Regions from separate parts of the Homo sapiens genome. Here all the other regions are linked to region 1. The links are contacts of gene promoters, found by promoter capture Hi-C in blood cells and fetal thymus (Javierre and others, 2016). All regions are on one chromosome and are shown on one strand. Each heading gives the region's core, a stretch centred on a gene start or on the middle of the fragment in contact. The rest is flanking DNA. Distances are from core to core; before and after follow the strand shown.

Evidence for each region. Contacts are between HindIII fragments. The CHiCAGO score rates a contact against its expected background, and 5 or more counts as called.
Region 2: the fragment with the promoter of SEPSECS here is called in contact with the fragment with the promoter of STIM2 in region 1 in 1 of 17 cell types (total CD8 T cells); the score reaches 6.4 in total CD8 T cells.
Region 3: a fragment that was not itself captured here is called in contact with the fragment with the promoter of STIM2 in region 1 in 1 of 17 cell types (non-activated CD4 T cells); the score reaches 6.7 in non-activated CD4 T cells.

The regions. Positions count from the first base shown.
Region 1 is chr4:26,859,131-26,862,525 of GRCh38, reverse strand. STIM2 (stromal interaction molecule 2) reads right to left here and starts at 1,685. Exons shown (of 12, transcript NM_020860.4): 1 at 1,157-1,685. The coding sequence starts at 1,307. STIM2-AS1 (STIM2 antisense RNA 1) reads left to right here and starts at 1,927. Exons shown (of 2, transcript NR_134674.1): 1 at 1,927-2,016; 2 at 2,498-2,902. RefSeq lists silencers at 989-1,558, 1,569-1,938 and an enhancer at 2,029-2,128. The HindIII fragment of the contact is 3,345 bases long and covers 1-3,282 here.
Region 2 is chr4:25,158,893-25,162,287 of GRCh38, reverse strand. SEPSECS (Sep (O-phosphoserine) tRNA:Sec (selenocysteine) tRNA synthase) reads left to right here and starts at 1,839. Exons shown (of 11, transcript NM_016955.4): 1 at 1,839-2,032; 2 at 3,181-3,335. The coding sequence starts at 1,919. It overlaps SEPSECS-DT (SEPSECS divergent transcript), which reads right to left and starts at 1,616. Exons shown (of 2, transcript NR_037934.1): 1 at 1,535-1,616. RefSeq lists an enhancer at 1,576-1,875 and a silencer at 1,986-2,155. The HindIII fragment of the contact is 2,962 bases long and covers 898-3,395 here.
Region 3 is chr4:25,232,218-25,235,612 of GRCh38, reverse strand. PI4K2B (phosphatidylinositol 4-kinase type 2 beta) reads right to left here and starts at 1,580. Exons shown (of 10, transcript NM_018323.4): 1 at 1,182-1,580. The coding sequence starts at 1,449. It overlaps LOC105374535 (a long non-coding RNA gene), which reads left to right and starts at 1,748. Exons shown (of 4, transcript XR_925490.3): 1 at 1,748-1,824. RefSeq lists enhancers at 691-820, 753-1,252, 1,253-1,754 and silencers at 1,041-1,100, 1,141-1,380, 1,481-1,790. The HindIII fragment of the contact is 3,001 bases long and covers 60-3,060 here.

The DNA.
Region 1 (3,395 bases), core at 436-2,935:
GAAACTGCTTGGCTTTAAAGAATACAGTTCCTGAGCACTTGTCAGAGAAGCTGTTAGTAACTTCCAGACGCCCGCAGGACTATCATTTTGGTTAAATTAATCACGGGTCATCTTCTGCCACTTTAAACTTTTTAGTCTTACAATTATTGTAGGAAATCTACAGATCTACTTTAAAAATAAGTGAAATACTAAAAAAAAAAAAAAAAACCATTATTTTAGCTCCATTACTTTTCCCAAAGAAATCATTTCAGGGTCCTTATATAATAACTTTTACTTAAACCACAACTGATCAGTTGTACATAACACCGGAAGGCTTTAAAAAGGATACAATTCTGCACTTAACCTTACAAAACACGTTTCCAAGTTTTCAATTATGAGATCGTTCTATATATTAAAAAAAAGGTGCTAGTGCAGTCTATCAGAACTGTGCTGCCAGCTGCAAGCCCCGAGTATGCTGCACTTTGCAAATTTTAGGTATAATTTCTGGTTACCTGCTGAGGTTTCTACACCCTTTGTCACCCAGTGATGCTCCCACCACCAAACACTTTCCATCACCACTTAAAACGGCCTCCTTCCACCCCGCAAAAAATGCACTGTAAACTTAGGCATTTCTGCATACTAACACGGAACCACTAATATCACTAGGTATTATGGCTCTCAAAGAATCCCCTTTAGCAGGCTCCCCTGGGACGCTGTGCTCAAGCGGAGCTTTGAACCGGTGAGACTCGCTGCCAGCTGCCTTTGCAAAAGCAGCACCAGAGGTAGACTCAATACCGCAATGCTGCTGCTGACTTTTTCTAGCAGCCTCAAAAAAAAAAAAAAAAAAAAAATCAGCCCAGTCCCCTGCAGACCCTGCTGGCACTTCTGCAGCACGAAAGAGAAACCACCGCATTGCTCAGCTTGGAAGATCGGAGAGCCCGACTGAAGGGAGGGGAATCAGTGCCGTCGAGAGGCTCGGCGAGGGCGGGGTGTCGGGGTGAAAAGGAAAGACGTCCGGAGTGCAGGGGACCGCGACGAAGCAGCAGGCAGGGCTCCGCATCGCGCCCTGGCCGGAGCCGCGGAATAGCGGACGTCCGGCGGAGATGCTGACCTCTGCACGGGTTGGGGGTCCCATCGCTGCCGGCCGAGCCCCGCCCGCCGCCCCCCGGCCCCTCACCTGTCATGAGCGCCGGGCTATCGCCGGCCGCCGCGGCGGGAGAGGAGGCGGCAGTTGCGGCAGAGCCAGTCGCCCGCCGCCCGCGGAGGTGCCGGGGCACAAGCTCGCATCCGTCCGCCGCTCCGGCTACCAGCAGCCCGAGCACCAGCAACGCAGCCCAGCGCCGCCGCCGCAGCAGCCAGCCCCACGCTGGGCCAGGAGTCGAGGCGGGATGAAGGCGCCGAGGAGAAGCCGGGTGAAAGCGCAGCGGCGCCCCGGCCGCCTGCAGCTCGCCGGCTCCGCGAGGCGCCACCACCGCCGCCGGCGACTCCTCCGGCCGCCCCCGCCGCCTCAGACACGGGCTCCCGCCGGGCGCCAGCCTGGTCCCATCGGCACCGGCGGCCTCCGGAGCTCTGATCCCGGCTGCGTTCATTGGTTCCGGTTATTTAAAAAAAAAAAAAAAAAAGGTGGGGGGTAGAAAGGTACGGCGTCTTCAGGCGGTGCACGACACCCGCGCTGCTGCTGCGGCGAGACCGGGATCCGCTGCTCTGGCGCCGCCAAACACCAACCCCAGCTCCCGCGCCGCCGCCGCCGCGGCGCATCCCCCCGCCCCCTCCGGCCCGCGCTGGTCGTAGTACCACGCTCCGCCGGGACGCCTCCCTCCCCTCGCACATTCGCTCGCATACCAATCCCCCGCCTCCCTCAGGCTCTCCACGGCGCAGGCGCGGCGCTGCTGTACTGCGCGTGCGCGGCATCCCAGCCCCGCCCCGGAGGCGTTCCTAGACGGACGGTAGTACCGTGGGGCGGCTGATAACGCTTTAGCGAGCCGCGAAGATAGGAGGCGGGGAAGAAGGGGGACGTGTACCTCTCCCTCATTCACGGTACCACCGCGAGGGGGAGTGGGGGGCTACAAGGGGACGGAGAGAAGAGTCCAGACGTCCCACATCCTGAGGGCGAGTTTCAGCCTCGTAGAGGGCAGCGAAAGTAATTGCATGGATCAGGAAAATCTTGCAATCGGAAAACAGCAGCGTCCCCGTAATTTCAATATAGGTGGGGCTTACAAGTGGCTGGCTGTTTAGACGCGGTTAGCATAGCTTAGCGTTTTATTTACTTGCCAAACATTTCACAAAGCGCGTGCTATGTGTGAGTGTACCAGGCATTGCTCTAACCGTTTTACACATTTACATGCTATAACTCCAAAATTATCGTTACCCCCTTTTACGAATGAAGAGACTAAGACCTAGAAATGTGAAGTAAGTTGTCCCCAATATCCCACAGCTAATTCATGGGAAATGAGCGAGATTTAGCAGCCACTGAAAAGGCCTATTTAAGAGAATTTACTTTAGCCTCTGACTCTCCTAGGTACATTTACCTGAACTCATCACCTTCCCACCCCCATCCCATCGACTCTGTGCTGTATCCTGAACCGGCTGACAGAACAATGATGTAGACTTGACTTGTTTTCGCCAACCTGGAATGAAGCAAAGCTCTTGTGCACCCAAGATCTGCTCTCTGTTGTAAATCCTGTTCAGACCTGGTCTAATTGGTTTGAATAAATAAAGAACCGGAATCTTTCTCATCCAAACTAGTTGCCAGCATATTTTTAAGGCCACCTCCCTTCAAATTTAAAAGGAAGTGTTGAATGTACTGTCACTATAAATTAAAAGCCCTGGAAATTCACACGCAAGGAGGCATTCTTTCTCCCAGGGGCACAAAATTGTTTAAAATTTGCAGATAGGGTTATTAAACACGAAGATCCTTTTGCTATTGGGTTTTGTTGGTTTCATTCTGCTTATTGGTTTGTTTGCTTGCTTTCTCAAGCCAAGAAGATACTCAAATTACATTCTCCTAAAGTATTTCTTAGGTAGCCTGGCCAAGATAACCACAAATATCGTTTATTGTGGAAGGGCAGATGCACACTTTAGAAAAGAATCAAGGATGTCTTTGAGGCTAAGTCAATCTATCAACAGTTATTTCTCAGCAGACTTCTTGTGGGCATAGTGTTCAGGTGGCAATTCTTTATAGGGCAACCGGGAGATTATATTTCCCCTGCTGAAAGGCACAGCGATGAAGTCACACCAGAGTGCTGAGTGCCCACCAGAGAAGATAATTCTGCTAGGGGACCAGAACAATATAAATAACAAGCTTGTTCCTGCTCTCCAGGAGGCATTTCATTTATTAAATGTTTACTGAGTACCTAGTATGTGCCAGGCAGAGTACTGAGTGGTGAGGGTTAGGCAAGAGAGACACTTGAAAAAGG
Region 2 (3,395 bases), core at 590-3,089, 1.7 Mb after region 1:
ATATTAATAGCTGGATGCCATGGGAACATGCAGTAGAAACAGTGATGAGCTGGTACATGTTGAACAACTGACTTCTAGGGGAGTGGGTTGGAGTGTAAGGGCCTGATTAGCGGTGTTTACTGATTTCCATGGTGTAAATGCTCCCACCATGGCCAACGTGACATCATCAAAAGAGGAGTTGGAAGATGTGCAGTAGTATAACATTACATTGAATTTCCACCATATAGATAAAATGCATGTAAATAACCTGAAGAGCATAGATAATAGTAAAATGTAAAATAATTAGGAAGTGACAAATTTTGAGTATTTTTACTTTTGCTTGTAATATAATTTTTGAGTGGCTGTATTTGAAAACTAGCTCACAAAATTACTGAACATTTAACAATCAGCTCTTGCAAGTGGGTGTGACTCAGTGCAAATGGACAAACCACCAGGTGAAAGCAATGTCAGGAATTACTGTAGGCTCACATAAGATGAAGATTGTAAGGAAACTGGAGGCAGGGATCTCCAGCAGTGAACCTCTAAGTTGTTGAACTGTTACAGCACTGCCAGGTTCCTATGCCGGCTGTGCAGAAACAGACCAGTATTCCGACAGCAGGCTTGCAGCAGAGAAAGTTTTAATAATCACAAGTTACAAGCCAGGAAACAGGAAGAGTTCTCAAGCTTCAATCCATTTCATCAAGGGGTTCTAGGCAAAGTTTTTTAAGGGGATTTGTGGAGGGTGAGGGGCTGGAAAATTTGGGGTTATCGATTCGTTGGGGTAAGGGAGATGAAATCATTAGGATGTGACAATTGCATTCCTCCATGAATCAGCTTTTTATTGGGCCTTCCAGACAAGTTGGCGTCCTTAGTTTTGTTGGTATGCGGGACCTAAAGAAGCAATGCAAACAGAAAGCTTATCTTCTCATAATGTCTTAGATTTTATCTTCAGAGCAGAAAAAGAATGAAGAGTCTTGTGACAAGGGCCACATTCTCCTGGGGTAGTAAGTAGCAACCAGCTACAAGAAAGTCGGCCACACTGCAAGCTGGCTTAATAACAGCAGCTGTAAGCCTAGTTGGATTTTTTTCCCCTCCTTAATCAATTTTACAAAATGTTCTTGGGGATAGTTTCAGAATGGTCAAACTAATTCATTAATTCAATATCAACTTTTTTTTTAGGCCCTACTTTATTCTGGGCACTGTTTTAGGTGCCCGGGGGAAGGGGGCACCGCAGCAAAAACCGAGGTCCTGCCGTTAGGTTAGAGAGTTTACATTCATGGGTATGGGTGTGTGTGTGTGTGTGTATAAACAAACGTCTGGCATGTCACGTGGTGAGTAGTAAGTGCTATGGCTAAACAGTAGTGTCAAGGGGAAAATGAGTGGGGCACTGCTATTTCCTATGGGGTTGTGAGGCAGTAATAAGTGTGGAAATGTATCAAAGTAAAGATCGAAGGTTCTGGCATCTGACAGTTTGAATAAGGCGGAAGCACAGACCCTGCACAGATCTCAACCATCCAACAGGACTGAAACACAGAACTTGGAAAAACCCACGTACCTGCTTCTTACTCTGCTCGCCCGGTCTGCACAAGTGCAAAATCCTTTCCTGAAGTTTGTGTCAGGAACACCAGGGTTTAACTAGACGAATCAGCCGCAGCGGGGCGGGGCTAATTTCAGTCCTTCCTTTGCCAAAAGTCAGCGAAAAGCGCGGACTCCCTCGCGCATGCTCAAATACGCCAACTTCCTCCTGGAGCGCCATCTGAGAAGGTCTGCGCATGTGCACGAACGAGAAGTGTTTTTTTTGTTTTGTTTTGTTTTGTTTTGTTTTTTGTCCCAAGGCGCTGCCGTACCGTCCAGGCGGCGAGTTGCATTCTGGTTCCGTCGTGTGTCTGGCGTGTGGAGCTAGTGCTCCCGCTTATTCGCCACTGTCGCCACCGCTGTCATGAACCGCGAGAGCTTCGCGGCGGGAGAGCGGCTGGTGTCGCCGGCTTACGTGCGGCAGGGCTGTGAGGCCCGCCGCTCGCATGAGCACCTCATACGGCTGCTTCTGGAGAAGGTACCGAGCTGTCGGTCCCCTCCCCAGCCGCCGCGACCCCGGGGCTCTGGCTCCGCCGGGCGTCCCCGCTGGTGCTGCCTCACCGGCAGCTCTTCGCTGCTTGAGACTAGTCCCAAGTCTGTCTCAGCTTGGCTTGCCCTAGCTGACCGACTGCGGTCTGTGCCTTCTCAGCCTTGCCAAAGCCAGTGAAAGCCAAATGGTGTTGTTAGGAGGGGGTGTTGGGGTCGGGGTTTTGAGTCCCGCTGTTTCTAACTTCGGGATGCGGAAGTGAGGGAAAGTCCCAGTGTACTTTTTTATTCGCGGAAAGGGCAAAGTTCGCACCTCCATCTTTCACCAACCCTCAACGACTCAGAACACATAATGGTGTTTGTAGACTGTATGCTAACTCGAACCACGAGCTTTCCGCGGAACTTCACAGGTCTCCCTCCTGCCAGCGTTCATGTATTTTAATTTCATTAAAAGTTTTGTTGTGTTTTGTTTTTTTGAAACAGAGTCTCGCTCTTTCGCCCAGGCTGGAATGCAGTGTGACGATCTCGGCTCACTGCAGCCTCCGCCTCCCGGGTTCACGCCATTCGCCTGCCTCAGCCTCCCGAGTAGCTGGGACTACAGGCGCCCGCCACCACACCCGGTTAATGTTTGTATTTTTAGTAGAGATGGGGTTTCACCATGTTGGCCAGGCTGATCTCAAACTCCTGACTTCAAGTGATCGGCCATTCTTGGCCTTCCAAAGTGCTCGGATTACAGGCGTGAGTGAGCTACAGCGCGTGGCCAAAATTTCACTGAAGTTTGACAACTACCGCCCTTCTCCACGTCCCACCGCCCCAGTCGTAACGCCCTGGTTTGAAGCATCTTCACTGGGGATGTGTTGTATTGGTTTTCAGTTAGTTTCACTTACGGAAATTTAAATATCTCAGTAAACCTCATTGTATGCATTTATCATCACTTCTCGAAATCTGTAAATAATTGTAATCAAATGTACAAACGTTTTGCCTCTTTGCGGTCTCTATACAGTGGTGAATTTATGCTTGAATTTTAGAAAACAAGCAGCGTGGCAAAATACACGTTAAAAAGAAAAACTGTATTCCTGTAGTATTCTAGAGAACGGTAGTTTTATTAAATATAATCATAAGTTTTTTTTTTTTTTTAAGGGCAAGTGTCCAGAGAATGGCTGGGATGAAAGTACACTTGAACTCTTTTTACATGAACTTGCAATCATGGACAGCAACAATTTCTTAGGCAATTGTGGTGTGGGAGAAAGGGAAGGGAGAGTGGCATCCGCACTGGTTGCTCGTCGTCATTACAGGTATCTTTTTTTAAGTAGTACAGGAGATACATCGTTTATTTATTTTTGGTTCAAAATAAT
Region 3 (3,395 bases), core at 311-2,810, 1.6 Mb after region 1:
TTAAACGTCAATGCATCCATCAGGTAACATTATAACGGGAGCAGACGTTGGTTAAAGCTTAAACAATCAGACAAACTGCTCCCCTTGGGATTCTCTGATTTATTTACTCTAGAATATGCCTGAATGTAGCCTCTAGCTAGAACTTGAGTGACCGATTCTATCCAAAATTCTTTAAACTGTAAAGGACACATTAGTGTACCACTAACAGTACATTTAAAATCTAACAATTCCAAAAAAAACTAAGCAGTGTTAAAGAAACTTCCATTTTCTGTGGTTTTTAAGTTGTCATGTGTGAAGCGATAAACCAACCGGGTGCACAACATCTCATTTAATCCATCCTCACAACCAGCAGGGAGGTGTACCATCGCCTTTTTACAAACAAGTCTGTCTCACCTCTAGCTGAGAGTCTTACAAGTCTCTTGCTATTTCCATCACATTTGTCTAACTCCATTCAACACGCCAGAAAAACTCACTTTATTAATAAATATCCAGGCCTGCACAGCATACCTAAATTTAACCTTCAACATCATTTCAACTGCCCTGTTTCGCCTGAGGTTATCAGTCCGCTTAATAGCGAAAAGAGGTTTTTCGTTTTGGTTTTCTTATGTATTAGAAGTAAATCAAGAAAGAGAAACTAAACTGTAAGAGGGCAGGAACAGACTTTCAACTGCTTTTGCCCCCTGTGGCTAACTTCATAATAACAACATTTAATAGAAAAAGGTTTTGAAACGTGCCCCAGTGGCAACTGGATATTCTGGCTGTCCATCTCTCTCCTGTCATCCACTTTGCAAATTCACCACTCCGGGAACTTTCCTGAGAGTTCAAGGTTCTTAATTCAAAAGTCAAGTCCAAACTTGAGCAAGGACTTACGTCATTTTACAGCGTTAACCTCTCCCCAGTGTCGGTTTCTAGAAGTTTTGACTCACTTTGCGGGGAGGTCTAAAGAATCGGTTTAATGACAACCACTGGCCTTAGGAGAGGGAGCTCCCGGAGAAAGAGCGAGCAAGCTAGGTGCCCGCGGTGCGGCTGCGGCTGGCGCCGGTCCGAGCTCGGGAGCTGCTGCCCAGCGAGCGGGGAAAGCCCGTCCACCTCGGCCAGCGCGCGCGGGAGACAGGACCGAGCCGGGCGACAGGGGCAGCCGCCCGGAGGGGCGCGGGGAGTGGGGCAGGGCCGGGTCGCACCTGAAACCGCGGGGCGGCTCCGGTCCAGCTCGGCGGACGAACTCCGGGAGACCCCCACGTCCCCGGGCGGGAGGGGCAGCTCCTCGTCGCCGGCCTCGCCCTCCTCCCCGGCAGCGTCCAGCAGCCTCACGGCGCTGCCTGGGGCGCCTCTCCGCGGGTGGGCCCAGGCGATCCGCGGTAGCAGCGGCTCCCGCTCCCCATCCTCCTCCTCCTCCGGGCTCCCGCCGTCCGCGGACGCCAACCGGTCGGGCTCGGAGGGATCCTCCATGGACTCCCTCTGCTCCCTCCGCGCTGAGACCAGATCAGAGCAGCCAGGTGCCAGAGACTGGGCTCTGCATGGCGCGGAACGGGAGCGACCGGGTAGAACGGACGCCACCTCACCAGCGCACGGGCACGCTTGGCGCCCGCCCAGCGGTTGTCCCGCCTCGCCGCCGGCCGCGCCCCACCTCGCGCCTCCGCCAGGCACCACCCCCGCGCCTGCGCAGAAGGGTCGTGGCGGCGGCGGCGGCGGCAGCGGGGCACGTGGGAGTGAACAGGGGGCGGGGCTTTTGAGGGGTCAGGTGGGGTGGGGCCGCCACCTGCTTCCGTGAGCGCGGGGAGAAGCTGGGCACAGCTCGCTTTACTCCCAGTGGAGGGCGGGAAGGTGAGTAATTTTCAAAGAGGTGCCCTCCTGCAACCAAAAGCGGCTTCTCCCTGACAGAATTCTCTCTCAGAGTTTACCATAATCTGTAACTATAGATTTAATTGTATGACATTTCTTTCCTCCAGTAGACGTCCAGGAGGGCAGGGACCTTGTCTTTGTTCAGATATTCTTGATAGTGGCAGTTTGTATGTTTTCTTTTTCTGACTAATCTAGCTAGAAGTTTATCAATTTTTAAATCTTTTCAAAATGTCATGTTTTGGTTCCATTGATTTTCTGTTTTCTGGTCCATTGCCTTATTTTGCTCTTTATTGCTCACTTGAGTTTTGATTTCCTCTTCTTTTTCTAGTTGCTTAGAGTAGAAGATGATTGATTCTGGATCTTTCTGCTTTTCCAATGCTAGTATTTTAAGGCTATAAATTGCCCTCTAAGCACTGCTTTAGCTGAATTCTCCTTTTTTTTTTTCTTGGTGGTTGTTATTTTTGAGACAGGGTCTCACTTTGTTATCCAGGCTGGAGTGCAGTGACACAATCATAGCTCACTGCAGTCTCAACCTCCTAAGCTCAAGGGATCTTCTCAGCTTTAAACTGTAGAAGACACAGTAGCTGGAACTGCAGGTGTGCACGACCACATCCTGTTAATTTTTAAATTTAAATTTTTTGTAGAGATGGGATCTCACTGTTGCCCAGATTGGTCTTGAGCTCCTGGTCTCAAGCAGTCGTCCTGCTTCAGCATCCCAAAATTCTGGGATTACAAGCATAAGCCACCTTGCCTGGCCTGCTACTGTGCTTTTGTTTTCCTTCAGCTGAAAATAGTTTTTAATTTCCTTTATGATTTCCTCTTTGACCCTGTAAAGGAAAATAAAAATCTCAGAACCACCCCCCACCCCCAACTTGTTATGTCAAAGGGAGAGTTAAGCCTGGAGACTGAAGTCACTCAACACTACAATGCTTTTCCCAAATGGATAGCTGTTACTTCCCATAGTTGTATTAAAACTTTATATGTTAGCCAGACCCTCCTCAAAATGCAAAAAAAAGCCTTATGCATCTCAGTCTCAGGATGACTGTCCTCAACAAATTAATCATAGTAAATTCTTTACTGGCCCTTAAACCTTTCAAGATGTATATCCTTCCATAAAACAAGGACGTGTCAATTGTATAACTTTAAGTCTGCAACCTAAATCAAACTGGTACAACTAAAGTCTGTTAAATTTCACATGGATAAATTCAGTTACAAGCTTATCTTCCCAGATGCAGAACAAGGATAAGATCAATCATTCCTTCACCTGAGATATCTGTATAATTAACTTCCTTTACTCCATTTTCTTTGAATATTCACCTTATCTTATGCATAGCATAGAGTTACTGGGCACTACCTAAAGTCTAGCAAAAATGTAACCATTTGCTTCACCACCTACAACCCTCTTCCCTGATGCCTTCTCCGCTTTAAAGAAAGAATAGCTGTAATTACAGGTGCCTGCCACCATGCACGGCTAATTTTTGTATTTTTTAGTAGAGATAGGGTTTCACCACATTGGCCAGGCTGGTCTCGAACTCCTGACCTCAGATGATCCA